5 separate regions of the Homo sapiens genome follow, and all the other regions are linked to region 4. The links are contacts of gene promoters, found by promoter capture Hi-C in blood cells and fetal thymus (Javierre and others, 2016). All regions are on one chromosome and are shown on one strand. The core of a region is centred on a gene start or on the middle of the fragment in contact, and the rest is flanking DNA. Distances in the headings are between cores, read along the strand shown. Region 1 has its middle 3.3 kb from the start of CDKL5. Region 2 has its middle 25 kb from the start of SCML2. Region 3 has its middle 6.3 kb from the start of PDHA1. Region 4 holds the start of PHKA2-AS1 (PHKA2 antisense RNA 1). Region 5 overlaps CDKL5 (cyclin dependent kinase like 5).

Region 1 (3,557 bases), core at 627-3,126, 470 kb before region 4:
AGTTTTAAACGGTTGATTTTTAATAGCAGAAAACACCTAAATGTCAAAAAAAAGTATCCAAGATATGAAGGGACATGAAAGGTAAATTTACCATAAAAACATGTTTCAAAGTAGTGATTGGAGAAAAATAAACCACTTCATTTATACCCCATGGAATTGAGCCTGCTCAGTAACAGCTAATCTTTATAAAGTCCTTACTATGGGTCAGATACTCTTCTAAGTATTTCACAAATAGTCACTCACCTAAACCTATGAAGTAAGCACTATTATCATCTTCATCATCTCCAATTTTTTTTGAGACGGAGTCTCACTCTTTTGCCCAGGCTGGAGTGCAGTGGTGCAATCTCAGGCTCACTGCAATCTCTGTCTCCCGGGTTCAAGCAATTCTCCTGCCTCAGCCTCCCAAGTAGTTGGGATTACAGACACTCACCACCACGCCCAGCTAATTTTTGTATTTTTAGTAGAGACGGGGTTTCCCTGTGTTGGCCAGGCTGGTCTCGAACTCCACACCTCAAGTGATCCACCCACCTTGGCCTCTCAAAGTGCTGGGATTACAGGCATGAGTCACCGCGCCCGGCTTCATCTCCATTTTTACAGAGGAGGAAACTGAGGCATAGAGAAGTTGAGCAATTTGCCCAAGGACATAACTAGAGCTAGCATTTGAGCCCAGGCCATCTGACGCCCGAGTCTTAAAAGATATGATTGCAATGTAAGGTTTGCTCAAGGTACAGAAGAATATTGGTTAAAGTGTTAAGGCTGACATTTCTGTTCTTTCCCCACTGTTCCTGGTTAAACTCAGTGCCTGGAGGACAAAGATAGAGGCTTTGTTTCAAATGAGGAATTGGATTCAAATTTCCAAAATGAAAATTTTCCAAATGATATAAACTTTAAATGAAAACATGTAAGATCTGACGGTTTGATTTAAGCTCTGAGCAGGGCCGAGGAATAACTAATGCTCACCTCTTCCTGCAAACACTATAAATTTATGCACTGAGCCAGGCACCGCGGCTCATGCCTGTAATCCCAGCACTTTGGGAGGCTGAGGCAGGCGGGTCACTTGAGGTCAAAACCAGCCTGGCCAACATGGTGAAACCCCATCTCTACTAAAAATACAGAAATTAGCAGAGTGTGGTGGCGTGCGCCTGTAGTCCCAGCTACTAGGGAGGCTGAGGCAAAAGAATCACTTGAACCCAGAAGGCAGAGGTTGTAGTAAGCTGAGATCATGCCACTGCACTCCAGCCTGGGTGACCGAGCAAGACCCTGTCTCAAAAAAAAAAAAAAATTATGTGTTGATTGGATTCTTAAGCTTTTCTACCAGATCCTGATTGCATTATGAGGTCTAGGCCCAGATGGATACTTCATAAATGTTTTTTTGACAATGAATAGAATGCTTGTTTAGTCTTCTAGACTTGTCCCACATATATCAAGGATAAAAATGTCTTACTTTTTTTTTGTTTTGAGATGGAGTTTCGTTCTTGTTGCCCAGGCTGGAGTGCAATGGCGCAATCTCGGCTCACTGCAACCTCCGCCTCCCGGGTTCAAGCGATTCTCCTGTCTCAGCCTCCCGAGTAGCTGGGATTACAGGCACATGCCACCATGCCCGGCTAATTTTTGTATTTTTAGTAGAGACGGGGTTTCATCATATTGGTCAGGCTGGTCTCAAACTCCTGATGTCAGATGATCCGCCTGCCTTGGCCTCCCAAAATGCTGGGATTACAGGCGTGAGCCACCGTGCTCAGCCAAAAATGTCTTACATCTTGATTACCACTTGTTTATTGATTATTGAGACCCGTAATGAGTAGCACTCATAGGTTCTGACATCTGTAGTGGGATGCGTCTCTGGCATCTAATAGAAAGTCTGACTCAAACTGTCTGAAATGCAAGGAAAGGGCAGAGTTTGTTTAATGAAACAACTCAGTGACGTCATCAAGAACCCAGTTAAAAATTTTTTTTTCTATTTTTTGATTCTGCCTTATTTAGTGTGTAGGCTTTGACCTAGGGCTGGTTTTCCTCTTAGTCACGAAATGACTGTCAGTGGCAACAAGCGTACTTGCTTCCTTGTTCATCCAGCAGGGTAGACAGGGAAAACCTCTTTCAAACCATCAAATGTTAAATTCTTTCCTTCAGTGTAATTAGGCCACACATTGATTGACTGAGACTCTGGGTAGTGTGGAGCGGGTGGATGCCTGAACAGAGTTGGGGTTCTATTAGAAGGGCAAAAAAGCAAATCGATGCTGGGGAGGTTCTCAAGCTGTTTCTTCATCTGGAAAATGGTGAGAATTTCGCAGAGAATTGAGAGGATTAGAGATAATGTGTCAGATTTAGCAAATAAAAATCGAAGATGCTCAGTTAAAATTGAATTTGAGATAAACAGCAAATAATATTTTAGTCTAAGTATGCTCACCTCTTTCTACAAACACTACAAATTTATACATTAATTTGGTTCTTAAGCTTTTCTCCCAGATCCTGATTGCATTACAAGGTCTAGACCTAGAAGGGCATTTCGTAATTTTTTTGGCAATGGTTAGAACCTTATTTAGTTTTCTAGCCTTGTTCCACATGTATCCAGGATAAAAATACACATTTATACTAAAAATTATTCGTTGTTTATCTGAAATTCAAATTTAACGGGGCATCTTGTATTTTATCTGGCAACCCTAAATCTATGTGAAGTTCTTGGCACAGAGCAGGTATCCATTCACTGGCTAGTATTAGTGTTCTTTCTACATAAGTGCTCAGTTAAATGGCAGCATGGTACTTTTTTTTTTGGAGACAGAGTCTTACTCTAGCCCAGGCTGGAGTGCAGTGGTACCATCTCGGTTCACTGCAACCTTGACCTCCTGGGTTCAAGCAATTCTCCTGCCTCAGCCTCCTGAGTAGGTGGGATTACAGGTGCACGCCACCACTCCCGGCTAATTTTTTTCTATTTTTAGTAGAGATGGGGTTTCACCATGTTGGCCAGGCTGGTCTCGAACTTCTGACCTCAGGTGATCCACCTGCCTTGGCCTCCCAAAGTGCTGGGATTACAGGCGTGAGCCACTGCTCCCGGCGCATGGTACTTTTTAAACTTTTACTAACTTTCTAGAAAGGTTAGTTTTTGACCAAAAGACGAATTAACTAAACTGCAAGTGACTGCAAGAAATCCTTTACCACTACTTAAAACCAGATCAAAGCAAATGTCCCTAAGCAGAAGGTCATATTTGTGTATATGGGATGGCACATTATAAGGCATCTAATATTACTACTTAATACTAAATTGGACCTATATTAACAGATGTTCAGTTATTGTTTTTTCTCCATCTTCTCAATCTATACGGATAATTAATTTGTTACTTCCGGTTCACCAGGTCTAAATAAAATTTTAAAAAATTATTCATTTGAGTCAAAGGTAATGCTGCTGAAATTCCTAGTACAAAGGCTCTGATATACAGGGATGAAAATGGAGTGATTGCCCCAGGAGTTCTGGATCCACGTGGGTGAAGCTAGAGGTCACAGCACTGTTACTTTGCATCTGGAGGAGGCAGGAGACTCTGCGAAGCCCTCTGTTGTTGCCTCTG
Region 2 (4,026 bases), core at 428-2,927, 510 kb before region 4:
CTCATCATGCAAAAAAATTTAAAAATTAGCTGGATGTGGTGGTGCATGTCTTCAGTCCCAGCTACTGGGGAGGCTGAGGCAGGAGGATCACTTGAGCCGGGAGTTCAAGGCTGCAGTGAGCTATGATCGGCCACTGCATTCCAGCCTGGGCAAGCCCCTGCCTTAAAAAAAAAAAAAAAAAAAATGTTGGGCAGGATGTGGTGGCTCACACCTGTAATCCCAGCACTTTGGGAGGTTGAGGCAGGAGGATCACTTGAGTCTAGGAGTTCGAGGCTGCAGTGAGCCATGATCAAACCACTGCACTCCAGCCTGGGCGACAGAGAGAGACTGTATCAAAACAAAAACAAAAGGAAAGAAAAGAATTTTGCAGCTTCTGCAGGAAGCCACCACCCATCACCACAGTGAGGAGGAAACTCACCGGATGCCTGCACAGGGAATGCCACGGGGCCAGTGCTACACTGCGCCCATCAAGTGAGTCCCAGCAGTGAGGAGAAACAAAGCAGCAAACAGGAAGCAGAAAAGTCCTTCAGTGCCCCCTATTGGCAGAGTATAACATGGAGCCGGCTGCCAAAACACAAAATGTAGGTTGCGCAGGTGCAGCTCCAGTATTACAAAGTAGGGAAAAGACTGACAATATCAGGTTCTGATAATGTGGAGCATAGGAACTGTCATATGCCTCGGGTGGGAGTGTAAATTAGTACAACTACTTTGGAAAACAATTTGGCATTATCTTTTTTAAACAACTTTTTAGGCCAGGTGCAGTGGCTCATGCCTGTAATCCCAGCACTTTGGGAGGCTGAGGCAGGCAAATCACCTGAGGTCAGGAGTTCGAGACCAGCCTGGCCAGCATATAGTGAAACCCCATCTCTGCTAAAAAATACAAAAATTAGCCGAGTGTGGTGGCACACACCTGTAGTCCCAGCTACTTGGGAAGCTGAGGCAGGAGAATTGCTTGAACCTGGGAGGCAGAGGTTGTAGTAAGCTGAGATTGCGCCACTGCATTCCAGCCTAAGTGACAGAGCAACACTCTGTCTCTAAAAAAAAAAAAAAAAAAATTTAAACAACTTTTTTGCCTGGAAGTCTCACACCCAAGTAACTGGATATGAGCTCAGTTTGGCATTATCTAATAAAGTTGAAGAGAGCATAGCCTGTGGGCAGTTCTACCCTATGTCTATGCCCCAGAGAAACATGTGTATGCACATTGTACATCAAGGTAAGTGTTTAAGAATCTTTCCAGGTGCAGTGGCTCATGCCTGTAATCCCAGCACTTTGGGAGGCCAAGGTGGGTGGATCGCTTGAGTCCAGGAGTTCGAGACCAGCCTGGGCAACATAGGGAGACTCTGTCTCTATTTTAAAAATACAAAAAATTAACTGGGTGTGGTGTCACATACCTGTAGTCCGAGCTACTCAGGAGGCTGAGGGAGGATCACCTGAGCCCAGGAGGTTGAGGCCACAATGAGCTGTGATAGCACAACTGCACTCCCACCTAGGCAACAGAACGAGACCCTGTCTCTAAAAAACAAAAAAAACTTCATAACGGCATAATTTATAATAACCCCAAATGGAAAACCCGAAGTCCATCTATAGTAAAACGCAAATTAAATTGTGGCATACTCGTTCAATAGAATGAATACTCTATAGAATGAAAATACACAACTATACATTGAGACATGGATGATACCTCAAAATCATAATGTTCAGCAAAAGGAGAGAGAGAGAGAACGAATCCAAAGGGTAAGACTCCATCCCATCCATACAATACTCAAATCCAGGATGCACACCTCAGTGTAAAACAAAAACAAACACATGTGAAAAACAAGAACTGGATTTATTATGAGTTAGGAGTTACCTCTGGGGAGGAGGTTAAGAGTCATGATCCAGGAGGTTACTTACATGTGGGGGAGTTCTGTAATATTCTGTTTTGTTGACATAGGTGACTTACATTAGATTGTTTCTTCCTTTAAAATAAAAAGTACATATGTTTAGTATGCATTTTTGTACATAGGTTATGTTTTGTAAGTTTTTGTGTGGTTTTTTTGTTTTGTTTTTTTTGAGACAGAATCTCACTCTACTGCCCAGGCTAGAGTGCAATGGCGAGATCTCAGCTCACCGCAACCTCTGCCTCTCGGGTTCAAGCAATTCTCCTGCCTCGGCCTCCCAAGTAGCTGGGATTACAGGTGGCTGCCACCACGCCAGGCTAATTTTTGTATTTTTAGTAGAGATGGGGTTTCACCATGTTAGCCAGGCTGGTCTCAAACTCCTGACCTCAGGTGATCCACCTGCCTCAGCCTCACGAAGTGCTGGGATTATAGATGTGAGATTACAGGGGTGAATCATATATCAATTTTTTAAATAAAATTTCAAAAGGAATGAATAGTATGAAAACAAATCATGTTAACTGAGTTTTAGGTAAAGATGACTACTTGTCAGAACCTAGGGGGCCGGGCATGGTGGCTCCATCTGTAATCCCAGCACTTTGGGAGGTGAAGGTGGGTGGATCACCTGAGGTCAAGGAGTTCAAGACCAGTCTGGCCAACATGGGGAAACCCTGTCTCTACTAAAAATACAAAAATTAGCTGAGCGTGGTGGTGCGTGCCTGTAATCCCAGCTACTCGGGAGGCTGAGACACAAGAATTGCTTGAACGTGGGAGGTGGAGGTTGCAGTGAGCCAAGATCACACCACTGCACTCCATCCTGGGCGACAGAGTGAGACTCTGTCTCAAAAAAAAAAAAAAAAAAGAGTAGACTATATTTGTGTGAGTCAATTTCTGAGCTCTCTATTCCATTCCATTGATCTATTTGTCTATTCTTATGCGAATACCACACTGTCTTGATTACTGTAGCTTTTTAGTAGATCTTGAAGTCAGGTAGTGTCAGTCCTCTAACACTGATCTTCAGTATTGTGGTGGCTATTCTGGGTCTTTTGCCCCTCCGTATAAACTTTAGAAGCAATTTGCTGATATCCACACAATAACTGACTGGGAATTTGATTAGGATTGTGTTGAATCTATAGATCAAATTGGGGAGAACTGACATCTTGATAATATTGAGTTTTCCTGTCCATGCACATGGTATATCTCTTCATTTATTGAGTTATTATTTGATTTCTTTCATCAGTTTTATACTTTTCCTCATATAGATGTCATACATATTTGGTTAGATTTATACCTAAGTATTTCCTTTTTGGGGGGTGCTAATGTAAATATTATTTGGGGGTTTTCTTTGCGGCAGGGTTTCACTCTGTTGCCCAGGCTGGAGTGAACTGGTATGATCGATGGCTCACGGCAGCCTTAACCTCCTGGGCTTAAGCAGTCCTCCCACCTCAGCCTCATGAGTAGCTGGGACCACAGGCATGCACCACCATGCCCAGCTACTTTTTAAAAAATTTTTTATAGAGACAAAAAGTTTTGTGTCTGTTGTAAGGTAATTTTGATGTTCTTTTGTTAGGCATATACACATTAAGATTGTTATACCCTCTTATAGTTTTGACTCCTTTTTCATTATGTAATGCTCCTCTTTATTCCTGATAACTTTCCTTGCTCTAAAGTCTGCTCTGCCTGAAATTAATACAGCTACTCCTGCTTTCTTTTGATGAGTGTTAGCATTGGATAGTTTTCTCTATCCCTTAACTTTCAATCTATATATGTCTTTATATTTAAAGTACATTTCTCGTAGACAACATATAGTTGGCCTTTGTTTTATCATCCATTTGACAATTTCTGTCTTTTGTTTGATGTGTTTAGATCATTTATATTCAAGGTTTTTTTTTTTTTTTTTTTTTTTTTGAGACAGGGTCTTGCTCTGTCACCCAGGCTGGAGTGCAGTGGCACAATCACAGCTCACTGCAGCCTCAACCTCCCGGGCTCAAGCAATCCACTCTCCTCAGCCTCCCAAGTAGCTGGGACTACAGGAGCACACCAACACACCCAACTAATTTTTTTTATTTTTTGTAGAGACAGGGTTTCGCCATGTTGCCCAGGCTGGTCTTGAATTCCTGAGCTCAAGTGATCTGCCTGCCTCAGCCTC
Region 3 (3,993 bases), core at 228-2,727, 450 kb after region 4:
ACCGTGGATAAAGGGGACGGCTGTACGCAGGTTAGTGAGTCACCTGGTGGAATTTTTCTGAAACTGCAGAACAGATCTGTTTGTTATTTCTCATGTTGGAATGCCACCTGGCGGAATTGTCCTTTGTTAAAAAGTACATCTATGGTCCTCAAACTTGGCATCCAAAATACCTGGAGAGCTTGTTATTTTATTTTATTTCTGAGACAGGGTCTTGCTCTAGCACCCAGGCTGGAGGGCAGTGGTGTGATCACAGTTCACTGCAGTCTTAACCTCCCAGTCTCAAGCGATTCTCCTGCCTCAGCCTCCCAAGTAGGTGGGACCACAGGTGCACCACCACGCCCAACTAATTTTTGTATTTTTAGTAGCAGTGGGGTTTCACCATGTTGGCCAGGCTGGTCTCAAATGCCTGACCTCAAGCAGTCCTCCCACCTCAGCCGCCCAAAATGCTGGGATTACAGGCGTGAGCCAACGTGTCCAGCCCGGAGAACTTTTTAAATCAAAGATTGCAGGTTTCCACTCCCAGAGTTTCTTATTCAGGAGGTTTGGGATGGGGTCTGGGAACGTGCATTTCTAACAGATTTCCCAGTTTGTGTTGATGCTGCTTGTCTGAGGTGCACTTTGAGAATTACTAAGTCCTCAACTCCTTAAATTTTAGTTGCCCACATAAGTGGGTTCTTTCCTATATGATTTTCGCAATTCTTTCATCTTTGAAGAACTGTAGAGATTTGAAATCTTGGCTTTCTGGAGCCTTTCCAAAGAACTCAGGATACCTTTTTTTTTTTTGAGTTGGGGTCTCACTATGTTGCCCAGGCTGGTCTCAAACTCTGTGCTCAAGTGATCCTCCCGACTCCTGAGTAGCTGGGACCACAGGCATGTGCCACTGTGTGCAGCTCGGGATATCTTTTGATTAAATCTACCAGTTGCTTTTGAAAACAGTTTTTACAACCTGATCTAAGTCACTTTACAATGTAGGGTTTTGTCTGGTTTTTATAGCCCTGCATCCTAGAATAGGCACTCTTGAAATATCTGTTGGACGAGTGAATGAATGTGGCCCTTTGACACCATGTCAGTTGGATAAATAGGGTTGTGTCCCACAATTAAAGCAGATGAAGCTCTTTGTCTCCTTCCTTCTCTATAACCTATTATGCTACAAAAAAAGAAGTCATAGACAGAATTCTATCCAGATCATTTATTTATGCAGGCACAAAATGTGCCATACATCCTGTTCCCTTAAGCTTGGCAAGGGCCTGTTCTCTCCTTCTGGGAACCGTGACAAGCTTCTTCATGAAGTGTTGATCCCAGGCAGACCCAAACAGGTGGCTTGTCAGACGGTTAGACTCTATTCACACGAGGGCTGGCGGCCCTGAGAGTCTTTTGAGCCAACTGCATATATATATATTTTTTTGAGACGAAGTCTCACTCTGTCACCCAGGCTGGAGTGCAGTGGCGTGATCTCAGCTCACTGCAACCTCTGCCTCCTGGGTTCAAGTGTACCCTCCCTGGCTCAGTGTAACCCGCACGGACCTAGGGGGACTGAACAAAGGGGACTGAACGTGGGAATAAAAGACAAGAGACAAAATAATACATTTGGAAGAAGGGGTCAGTGGCACCTCAGCTTCCCAAAGTGCTGGGATTACAGGCGTGAGCCACTGCTCCAAGCCAGAAGATAGAAATTTCTAAGCTTTGCTTTACCAGTGAGGACCCAGGTCACCAAGAAGTGAAAAGATTTGCATATTTACTTATAGTCACAAGATTCTAGTATAGTGCTCATTAAGGATGGGGCTCTGTCTTAAGTGCCTGACAAATATTAATCCATATAAGCTTTATGACAGCCAGCCCTATGAGATGAATGTTGTCATTATGCTCCATTTAAAGACGAGGAAACCGAAGCACAGAGAGTTTAGGCAAATTGCCCGAGGTCACACAGCTGGTAAGTCGTTGAGCCAGGATTTGAGACCAGGCAGACTGGTGCCAGAGTCCAGATGCTAGGCCGCCTCTCCGTAGGACAGTTCTTAGGTTTCCAAAGGCTGCTTCCGTTTGGGGATCAGCCACAGAAAATGATTGATAGTAACTTCAGGCCAGACTCATCAGTGTGTGCCTAAAATCTTCCCTATTAAAATATGTATTTTTCCACATATCTCCATTGGATAATAGAAAGACATGATGGGCCGAGTGCAGTGGATCATGCCTTTGATTTCAGCACTTTGTGAGGTTGAGGTGGGAGGATCGCTTGAGCCCAGGAGTTCGAGACTTGCCTGGGCAACATAGCGAGACCCTGTCTCTATTTTAAAAATCATATAGAAAGATATGCTCATACTCACTGTGGTTCACCTATCTTAGATTCAGGAACCCCGTGCTCTCCTGAACACACTATGGCACCTCCTTCCATTAATTTCCTTTAGGATCCTGTCATGAGAGGGCACAGCTCATCTTCCATATTTACAAAATGCAAAGCTGACATGAACATCCTTCTCTGGCTTCCCATTATTCTTAGGAAAAGTGTCTAAATCTTTAATGAGGTCTAACAGGACCAGGACAATCTATTGCCAACCTCGTGCTCAGCGCTCAGACCACAGCTAGAAGGTCTCCTCCTCAGTGCTGAGGTCTGAATGTGCCCCCTAAAATTCATCTACTGAAACTTAACCTCCAATGTGAGGGTATCAGGAAGCGGGGCCTTTGGGAGGTGATTAGATGATGAGGATGGAGCTCTGCCCCACTCCCCCAGGCCCCTTTGAATGGAATTAGCACCCTGATGGAAGAGGTTGAAGGGAACACCCCAGGCAATTTTTTGCCCTTCCACTCTTCTGCCATGTGAGGACTCAGCCAGAAGGCCCTCACCAGACACTGAATGCCCTGACCGTGGACTTCCCAACAGCCAGAACCATAATAAATCAATGTCTGGGTTTGTTTGTTTGGTTGGTTTTTATTGTTGTTGTTGTTTGTTGTTTTTTTTTTTTGAGACAGGGTCTTGCTTTGCCACACAGGCTGGAGTGCAGTGACACAATCGTGGCTCACTGCAGCTTCGACCTCCCGGGTTCAAGCCATCCTCCCATCTCAGCCTCCCAAGTAGCTGGGACTACAGGCACCTGCCACTATGCCCAGATAATTTTTGTCTTTTTTGTAGAGATGGGGTTTCACCACGTTTGCTAGGTTGGTCTCAAATTCCTGGGCTCAAGCAATCCACCTGCCTCAGCCTCGGAAAGTGCTAAGATTACAGGTATGAGCCATCAAGCCCAATCAGTGTTTGTTGTTTATAAGTTACCCAGTCTCACGTATTTTGTTAAAGCCGCCCAAACATTACAAATCCCCCAACAGCTTGATCTAGTACTTCCTCAGGGGTTACAACACAGGGATATTAAAATTATATGGTTCCTTTTTTATTTACTGCTGGAAATTATTCTATAAAGAACTATTCCTCATCAACTGTTTGTTGACATTGAAATTCAGTCTATGTAAGAAAGACAGGATAAATCCTTGGTTCTTTCCCTTTGCCAGATTTCAGAATAATTACTATTGGGCTGGTCTTTGCTTCTAGGTATTTCCAGTGGAGAGAGTTAAGATACACACACACATACACACACACACACACACACACACACATCGTTTTTGCTTTGAGACACAGTCTCATTCTGTTGCTCAGGCTAGAGTGCACTGGCACGATGATGGCTCACTGCAGCCTCCACTTCCCAGGCACAGGTGATCCTCCTACCTTGGCCTCCCTAGTAGCTAGGACTGCTGGTATGCGCCACCATGGCCGGCTAATTTTTTATATCGTGTAGAGACAGGGTCTTACCATGTTGCCCAGGCTGGTCTTGAACTCCTGAGCTCAAGTGATCTGCCCACCTTGGCCTCCTAAAGTACTGGGATTACAAGTGTGAGCTACCGAGCCTAGCCAAGATGTATGTATGTGTGTGTGTGTGTGTGTGTGTGTGTATCTTGAGGGGGGGAAATAATCATGAGTTTATACTGATATTTCCAATTCAAATTCAGGAC
Region 4 (3,955 bases), core at 189-2,688:
TTTGTAGGGAGGGTTTCACATTGTTGCCTAGGCTGGTCTCTAGCTCCTGGGCTCGAGACCTCCTGCCTAGGCCTCCCAAAGCGCCAGGATTACAGGCACAAGCCACTACGCCTGGCTGGATGCTGTTTTTTCTAACCTCTCCCTCAGCCGAGGCAGTATGCTTGCCTGAGACCTTGAAGTGGCAGCTAGTGGCTGTTTAAAATCCCTTTTGGTGACAAGTAGAAGCCTCTACATTTAGTTTCCAAAAGAGCAGAGGCAGTGGTCCCAGTGACAGTGCCCAGCATTGGGGGTGTCTGTGGTGTAAGTCCTGGGGTATGAACCTGGGAGTACTGGAGAATGACATGGGATCTTGGTCCTGGCTAGGGAGCCGCTTAGCCTGGTGACCATGTGACCTATCCAATATTGTTTAATAAACTTCCCACTTAACCCAGCCACAGTTGGTTTCTGTTGTTTGCAAATGAACTTCGAGACAATGGCAGCTGGTGGCACAGAGATTAGAGCCAGTTACTGGGATTTCTCTTTGGCAAGTCCATCCTGGGTTTGCATCTGGGAAGATCTTTCACAAAAGGAGATGTGGAAGGCACAACCATCCCCTCGTGCCCAATTCAGATGCAGCTTACCCTTTGCAGAGCCTGGCACCTTGGCTATGCCAGCTGCAGGGGAAAGGGGTGGCGGCCACCTGCAAGGGTTGGGCCAATGCTGCACAGGATTCGGGCTCAAGACACCAACACCCTGCTAGGCCAGCGCAGGGAACACTCACCACGGGAGCCTAGGGGCTTCCTCAGGGGCCTTCAAGCACAAAAAGAGATACTTTTCACCCTCCCACCCCCCAACCAGGCTGTATGCCTGCCTGGCCCTCAGTGGGCATGGCAGAAATGCTAGGATTCGTGTTGGATTCATGCATTTTTCAGAATAGTTTAAGGACTGCACGAAGACAGAGGGACGAATCACATGACTTCAGAGTTCATTGGTTCCAACTATTCCAGCTCTCCTGAGAAGGCATGTTTTGCCAAAAGTGCACATATGTTCCTCTAAAGAAAACCATGGTAGTTTTTTGATGGAATTTTTTCCTCTCCCAGGCATCGTCAGACGTGCCCAGCACTCGACTGCAGAGCAGCCTCTCTCACAGTTTCCACTCTCATTTCTCAAAGAACTCTCTTGGTACCTCAAGGCCGTGGCTTTCCTAAGTGGCTTTTTGAGGGAGACAGCAGGGACTGGGCTTTAAGGGGGCCACAGCGCAGCTTTCTTTTCCCCTCACAGGCAGAGCTATCAGTAGCCACGTCGGGTAGAACAGAAGGCATTCTGGGAACGCGGTGCTCTCACATCCTGCAAAGTACAGGCCTGCAGAGCAGATGGCAGGGACTTCAAAAGCTAAGTCACCTTGAAAGATAATGGCACAAAGGGCGATTGGGGGTGGGGTGGGTGGGAGGCTTTTGTACCCTTTTGCAACAAGGAAGCAGAAAAGACAAAAGCTATTTGCCAGCCTGGTGCGGGAATCAACAGAATAGAGAGATGGTTCTGCTGCAATTTCCATCAAGGGTGGCCAAGCCTCCAGTCTTCTTGTCCAGAAGTAAGTGGCATCAACCAACTCTGCCAAACTGCATTTCCTGCCTCCTGATCTGGGGTCTTTTCCTTTTCTTTTTTCACACAGGGAGTATTTCCATCCTCTCTGTCCAGGCAGCTGAGCCTTGACAACCTCTCCTCCCCTTCACCATGCCCCGACTGATCTCCTAATGGAGCCCCACCCCTCGAGTCCCTGGGCCTGTGGAAGGTAGGGTCTCCCCCTCCTCCTCATCCTCCCCCACTCCACTCCAGGTGGGGTTGCAATAGGGCTTATCTGGTTTCCTCTAAGCATGAAGCCCTTGACCAGAGGAGGAGCGGGAGTTCACGTCACGCCCCCATGCTTAGTCCTGGCCTTTTGCATTTTTTGTGGATGGGTAAACTGAGGTACATAGTGGTCAACTCATGCCCAGGATCACAGAGGCACTGGCAGGGTGGCAGGAATGCTGAATTCACCTGATGAGAGCCAGGGACAGCAGCGGGTGGGGCGGTGGCTGCTTTTCAACTGAAGTTGTTAAAAGGAATGCTTATTCCTGGCCCCACCGGCTTGCCCTCCAAGGCAGAACGTGTTAATACCGAGCCCCAGCAAAGGTTCAAATTGACTTCTTGGCTCTGAGCAGGGAGGTAGAAGTTCCTGCCCCCGCCACCCCCGGCTCGAGGCTCCAGGGGCTGCCAGGCTCCTCTCGCCTGGCCTAGAAACAATCCCCTCCTGCCACCTCCACGCAGGTGCTGTCAGGACAGGCCCTCTGCCCTCAAACATCTGCTCCTCTCCTCGGGGAGGGGGGCCTCAGCTGCGCGCTGAAGGGGCCAGGCCTCAGAAGCCTGTTCTCCTTTGAAGCTGACAGCTTGATGCCTGTGGAAATGCGGTCCTATTTCAGGATTTCATTTTAAAGAGGTTTCAAAGGAGTGGCTGGAAGGCTTGGTGGAATCGCTTATTACGGCTCCTCTCCCGGCCCGCAGCTTGGTGGCTGAGCACGTCATCATCATTGGCAGGCAGGTGACTGTTCTAAATTAGCACCTGGCTCATTCTGGAGGGCTCTAACTCTTCCTGAGCTTTTTCCAAGAACAACTTTCATGACTTATACCTTCTTATACCTTTCCCACGTTATCTGTTTGAAATGATCCACGGGGCAGGTGAATTACGTGTCATCTCCAAGACTCTTGTTTCTGTCGGGCATGTCTTAAAGACACACACACATGCAAAGGCTATGAAAATGCGACCCCCCAGACCTGGGAAGCTGCAGCCCGTGGAGCCTCAGGGGCAAAGGGAGCAAACTGGCTTGTGAGGGAAGAGCTGCTCTGGTCAGCGGCTGTTGTGGGATGGGGAGGGAACAGGGTGACCCAAGGGGGCAGGGGCCTGGTGCCATGTCTGCTCATGTGCCGCCCTCCTTGTCTCTGGGATCTGCCCCCAAAATGCAAGAAACGCGTAAGCCCACTGTAGCAGATATGGAGAGACTCCGGGGGATTTTCCTTTACCTAACTACTCTGCACCTCTGCAAGGGAGAGCATTATGGTTTGGAAGAAATGGAAACGGCATGGAAGTCCCATGTGGGCAGAGCCTGCACACCAAACCCTTCTAGACTGCAAAGGGTTTGACTCAGCCCAAAGAGGACTCTGCCAGGAAGCTGTCAGGCACCTGAGGCCACCTGCCTCTCCTCCGCTTCAGGAATAACCATCAGTACTGCATCTTGGCTCTGAGGGGCACTGGGCATCACGATGCCCACTCGAAGCAGCTAGGGCACGTTGATCTCTGCATCTCCATACAGATGTCCGAGGAAATGATCCCATAGCCTCATCTCTGTTTCAGAGGCAGAGGCAGAGTCCACCATAATCTAGCCCATTGCTCTCAACCAGACAGAGCGCACCTCCTGGCCACTAGGTGAGCATTTGTCTTTCAAGGTTTATTATTTACAGAAACTGTTTTCCCATTGGTTTTGTTTCCTTCCCCCAAGGTAAGACAATGCCCGGAGAGAAACTCCATTGCTAGGGCATTGGCAAAAGATTTGCCAGACCCTGACACCTGACTCAACCTTGCTCTCCTCCAATCGGTGCCTCCAACTGCACCCACCCAAGAGAGTGAAGACCAAAGTGCTTCTACCAAGAGGGTACAGGTTCCTAGCCTGGCTCTATTTTTCAGAGGGAAGCATTGTTTCTGCGGGGACATGCCTGTTCACTTCCATGGCACTGCTGACTTGTGCTCACCCTATGACGCCTCGCCCAGAGCACAGGAGGACAGTATCCACTGCGGGGCGTTCACCCCACGCGAGCGGGGACAACAGGTCTAGCCCTAAACAACTGCTTGCCTGGCTATAAGAGGAGCCTTGTCTTTTTTTTTTTTTTTTTCTAGATTCCAGAAGATGCAGTATTTTTCCTAAGGCAGGAGAAAACCCTAGTT
Region 5 (4,067 bases), core at 138-2,637, 410 kb before region 4:
TCATTTTTTTCTGTGTTCTTCAGATTGCATAATCTCTATCAATCAGTCTTCAAGTTCACTGATTCTTCTGCCAGCTGAAATCTATTCATCTCCTCTAGTGAGTTTTTAAAAATAAGCTTCATAATTTAGAATAGGTTTTGGTTTACAGAAACATTGCAAAGATAGTGGAGAGTTTCCATGTACCCCACATGTAGTTTTCCCTATTATTAACATCTTATATTGGTATGATACATTCATTCTAATTAATAAACCATATTGTTAGTGATTATTGATTACTGATATTCAAAGTTCATACTTTATTCAAATTTCCTGTTTTAATCTAATGTCTTTTTTTTTCTGCTCTAGGATCTCATGTAGGATATCACATTACATTTAGTTGTCATATCTTCTTAGACTCCTCTTGGCTGTTACAGATTCTCAGACTTTCTGTGTTTTTGATGAACAGTTTTGAGTAATACTGCTTAGGTGTTTTGTGGAGTATCCCTCAGTTGGGATTTGTCTGATGTTTTCCTTGTGATTAGACTGGTGTTGCAGGTTTTTGGGAGGAAGACCACGTAAGTAAAGTGTCATTTTCATCACATCGTATCAAAGGGACATACTATCAACATGCTTATCACTATTGATGTTAATTAACCTTGATCACCTGGCTGAGGCGGTGTTTGTCAGGTTTCTGCATTGTAAAACTACTCTTTTTCTCCCTTTCCATAATGTCCTCTTTGGAAGAAAGTTACTATGTGCAGCCCACATTTAAGGACTATGGAGTTATGTTCCACCTTATTGAAGATGGGGTATTTACATAAATTATTTAGAATTCTTCTGCACAGGGGATTTGTCAACTCTGACTCTCTCATTTACTTATTTAAAAAATCATTATGGACTCATGGATTTCTTTTTAATACTTTGGTTAATAATCCAAATGTAGTACTACTTTATTTTGTTGCTAAAATTGTCCCTGCTTTGGCTACTGGGGGCCCCTTCAGTTAACTAGTGTGATTTGACATAGCACACTTCTTCTTCCTTCTTCCTTTCTTCTTTCTTCTTCTTCCTCTTCCTCTTCTTTCTTCCTTTTTTTTTTTTTTTTTGGAGAGGAAGTCTCGTTCTATCCCCTAGGCTGGAGTGCGGTGGCGTGATCTCCGCTCACTGCAACCTCCACCTCCTGGGTTCAAGCGATTCTCCTGTCTCAGCCTCTTGAGTAGCTTGGATTACAGGTGTGTGCCACCACGCCTGGCTAAATTTTTGTATTTTTAATAGAGATGGGGTTTCACCATGTTGGCCAGGCTGGTCTCCAACTCCTGACCTCAGATGATCCACCCGCCTCGGCCTCCCAAAGTGTTGGGATGACAGGCGTGAGCCACTGCGCCTGGCCTTCTTTTTTCTTTCTCTCTTTCTCCTCCTCCTCCTCCTTCTCTCTCTCTCTTTTTTTTTAAACCTACTTCTTTATTTTCTGGCACTAGAATATGCTCCAGGCTCATCTTGTACATTTTTATGCCCCAGTCCTAGTTTCAGCCATTTCACCAAAGAGTCCTGGTTTCTTTCTTTCTTTCTTTCTTTCTTTCTTTCTTTCTTTCTTTCTTTCTTTTGAGGCAGGGCGTCACTCTCACCCAGGCTGGAGTGCAGTTGCATGATCGCGGCTCACCACAGCCTTGACCTCCTAGGCTCAGGTGATCCTCCCACCTCAGCCTCCAGAGTAACTGGGGCTACAGGTGCGGGCCACCACACCTGGCTAATTTTTGTATTTTTTTTTTTTTTTTGTAGAGAAGGGGTTTTACCATGTTGCCCAGGCTGGTCTCGAACTCTTGGGCTCAAGTGATCTGCCCGGCCTGTCTCCCAAAGTGCTAGGATTACAGACATGAGCCACTGTGCCCGACTCCTGGTTTATTTTTATCACAGAATGGTATTAGAAAGCAGGATCTAGGTGCTAGGTGGGTGCTAATGAATCTTTCATTTTGGTTATTTACTTTCCTATTCCAGAATTTCCATTTGGTTCCATTTTCAGTATTCTCAGCCTTCCTTGCCTGGGGTAGAGGTGCTGCCCTATAAATGAGGCTAGGTGGAGGTAGCTCTGCTTGACCGGAATAGTTCCTGCAACATGAAACAGAGGCTGCGAGGGGTGGCAGGGGATGTGAAATTCTGGTAACCTACTGCTCCTGGGGAGAAACTTTCGTCTTGGCTACACTCACTGGGCATAGAGCTGGGGGTGAGGGAGAGGGAATGGGCATGTAAGGAAGTGAGTCCTGGTTCAAATTTTTCCAACTTGGTCTTTTTACCAAGATTCAGTAGATTTTCTTGACTAAATATTGCTGCGTTTGCCCCATGTCCTTAGGGCAATTTCTGCAGACTGTAAATAGTTTCTTCTCTTTCCTTCTTTTTTTGTATCCTTTGTACCAGTTAAGGTTGTTTTGCTGAGGAGAGGGTCCAGGGTCCACATGGACCACCTCACACTGCCATTCTGGAAGTGCTTTTCTTTGGTTTAATTTTGTTGGAATAAAGTATTACTTATGGAAACAGCATTAGGTAAATATATTTCACGTATTCTAAATAGTAATCTTCATTGCCCCATCTTGTTTTCTATATCCTTTGATACTAATTTATAACAACAGTTCTTTAGAATTTAGACACTAACTCACCTCTTCTCTTTGTATTTTATCTTTTGAGAATGAAGCTTCATTTTATTTTTCATAGCCCTGGCAGACTACTTCCATTTATAGTCCTGTAACCATCCCTTTTGTGTGTGTATTGTTTCTGTGATGTCTTTCATGAAACTTCTTAGGGCTAAAGGTAATTGAAGCACATTTGCTTTTCCTCCCACTCAAATGTTTTTATTTCCTTCAAACAAATACCTTAGCAATTCTGCATCTAGATGTTCTTCAATTTGTCAGTTCTTGTTTTTTTTTTTTTTTCTTGGCACAACAGAAGATGTTCTATTTCATACAGTTAATGAAAGGTATCTTTACTTACGTAACTATAAATGATCAATAATGATGATAGTGCAATGCAATTTCAGAAGTTGTTCTAGATTTAGCATAGTTCTAAATTGTTGAGGCCGAGTAGAAAAATTTTCAGTGATATTGTTCAACTTGATAAAGTAACATTACTTTGCAGATAATATAATTGTCATCAGAACTGGCAAGACTAAAATTGTTTGCTTTAAAATATTTTATTTTCCTTAATAAAAATATTGCTTTAAAAATGTTAATGACATTTCATGAATCTATTCTTTTGGGCATTGACATAAATTACTGGTCTCATTTGGGGAATCCATTTAAATGTAGGCTCTTTGAGATGATATAATAAATCCCTCTTTCTAAAGTTATTGGCCTTCTTATTACATCATCTATTGTGTTTCATTAGTGTTATCTTTTAATTAGTAATAATCTCTATTATGTGGCTTCTATGCATCAGAGGCTTTATATAATCTTGAATCCTCTTCATTAGCCTATAAGTAGGTGGTATCAGTTCTTCTTAATGAATGAGAAAATAGGCTTGAAGGGACTACATAACTTGCTCATGGTCACATAATTAGTGAGGGATGACACCCAGATGTGTCAGTATTCTCAAAAGACTAGAAAGAAGGGTCCAGGTAGAGGAAGGGTTTGTGGCAAAAGCAGTGCATGGACTGCTTGTTCATCATCTTTTTTTTTTTGAGATGGAGTCTCGCTCTGTTGCCCAGGCTGGAGTGCAGTGGCACAATTTTGGCTCACTGCAACCTCTGCCTCCCGGGTTCAAGCAATTCTCTGCCTCAGCCTCCCAAGTAGCTGGGATTACAGGCACCCAACACCACACCTGGCTAATTTTTTTTTTGCAATTTTAGTAGAGACGGGGTTTCACCATGTTGGCCTGGCTGGTCTTGAACTCCTGACCTCGTGATCCACCCGCCTCGGCCTCTCAAAGTGTTGGGATTACAGGTGTGAGCCACCTCACCTGGCCTCATCATCTTAATTGGTCTTGGATTGTTGAAATAAGTTTTCATCTTCTAAGGAGGACATATCAAAATCTAGAAACTAAAAAGTTAAAAAAAATTTTTATGTTAGCCTAAACAATTGAAAATAGCAGATAACAAACAATAT

The links. Contacts are between HindIII fragments. The CHiCAGO score rates a contact against its expected background, and 5 or more counts as called.
Region 1: a contact is called between a fragment that was not itself captured here and the fragment with the promoter of PHKA2-AS1 in region 4, in 4 of 17 cell types (M2 macrophages, monocytes, megakaryocytes and 1 more). The highest score is 7.8, in M2 macrophages.
Region 2: a contact is called between a fragment that was not itself captured here and the fragment with the promoter of PHKA2-AS1 in region 4, in 1 of 17 cell types (M2 macrophages). The highest score is 5.3, in M2 macrophages.
Region 3: a fragment that was not itself captured here is called in contact with the fragment with the promoter of PHKA2-AS1 in region 4 in 1 of 17 cell types (M0 macrophages); the score reaches 5.1 in M0 macrophages.
Region 5: a fragment that was not itself captured here is called in contact with the fragment with the promoter of PHKA2-AS1 in region 4 in 1 of 17 cell types (total B cells); the score reaches 5.0 in total B cells.

Annotation. Positions count from the first base shown.
Region 1 is chrX:18,420,579-18,424,135 of GRCh38, forward strand. No RefSeq gene overlaps it. Among named protein-coding and RNA genes, the nearest start is that of CDKL5, 3.3 kb to the right of the region's middle. The HindIII fragment of the contact is 1,145 bases long and covers 1,305-2,449 here.
Region 2 is chrX:18,377,462-18,381,487 of GRCh38, forward strand. No RefSeq gene overlaps it. Among named protein-coding and RNA genes, the nearest start is that of SCML2, 25 kb to the left of the region's middle. The HindIII fragment of the contact is 6,947 bases long and covers 1-4,026 here.
Region 3 is chrX:19,335,658-19,339,650 of GRCh38, forward strand. No RefSeq gene overlaps it. Among named protein-coding and RNA genes, the nearest start is that of PDHA1, 6.3 kb to the right of the region's middle. The HindIII fragment of the contact is 404 bases long and covers 1,276-1,679 here.
Region 4 is chrX:18,888,858-18,892,812 of GRCh38, forward strand. PHKA2-AS1 (PHKA2 antisense RNA 1) reads left to right here and starts at 1,439. Exons shown (of 3, transcript NR_029379.1): 1 at 1,439-1,771. PHKA2 (phosphorylase kinase regulatory subunit alpha 2) reads right to left here. Exons shown (of 33, transcript NM_000292.3): 33 at 3,441-3,955. The HindIII fragment of the contact is 28,066 bases long and covers 1-3,955 here.
Region 5 is chrX:18,479,793-18,483,859 of GRCh38, forward strand. All of the region lies in intron 1 of CDKL5 (cyclin dependent kinase like 5), which reads left to right. Among named protein-coding and RNA genes, the nearest start is that of CDKL5, 56 kb to the left of the region's middle. The HindIII fragment of the contact is 2,546 bases long and covers 115-2,660 here.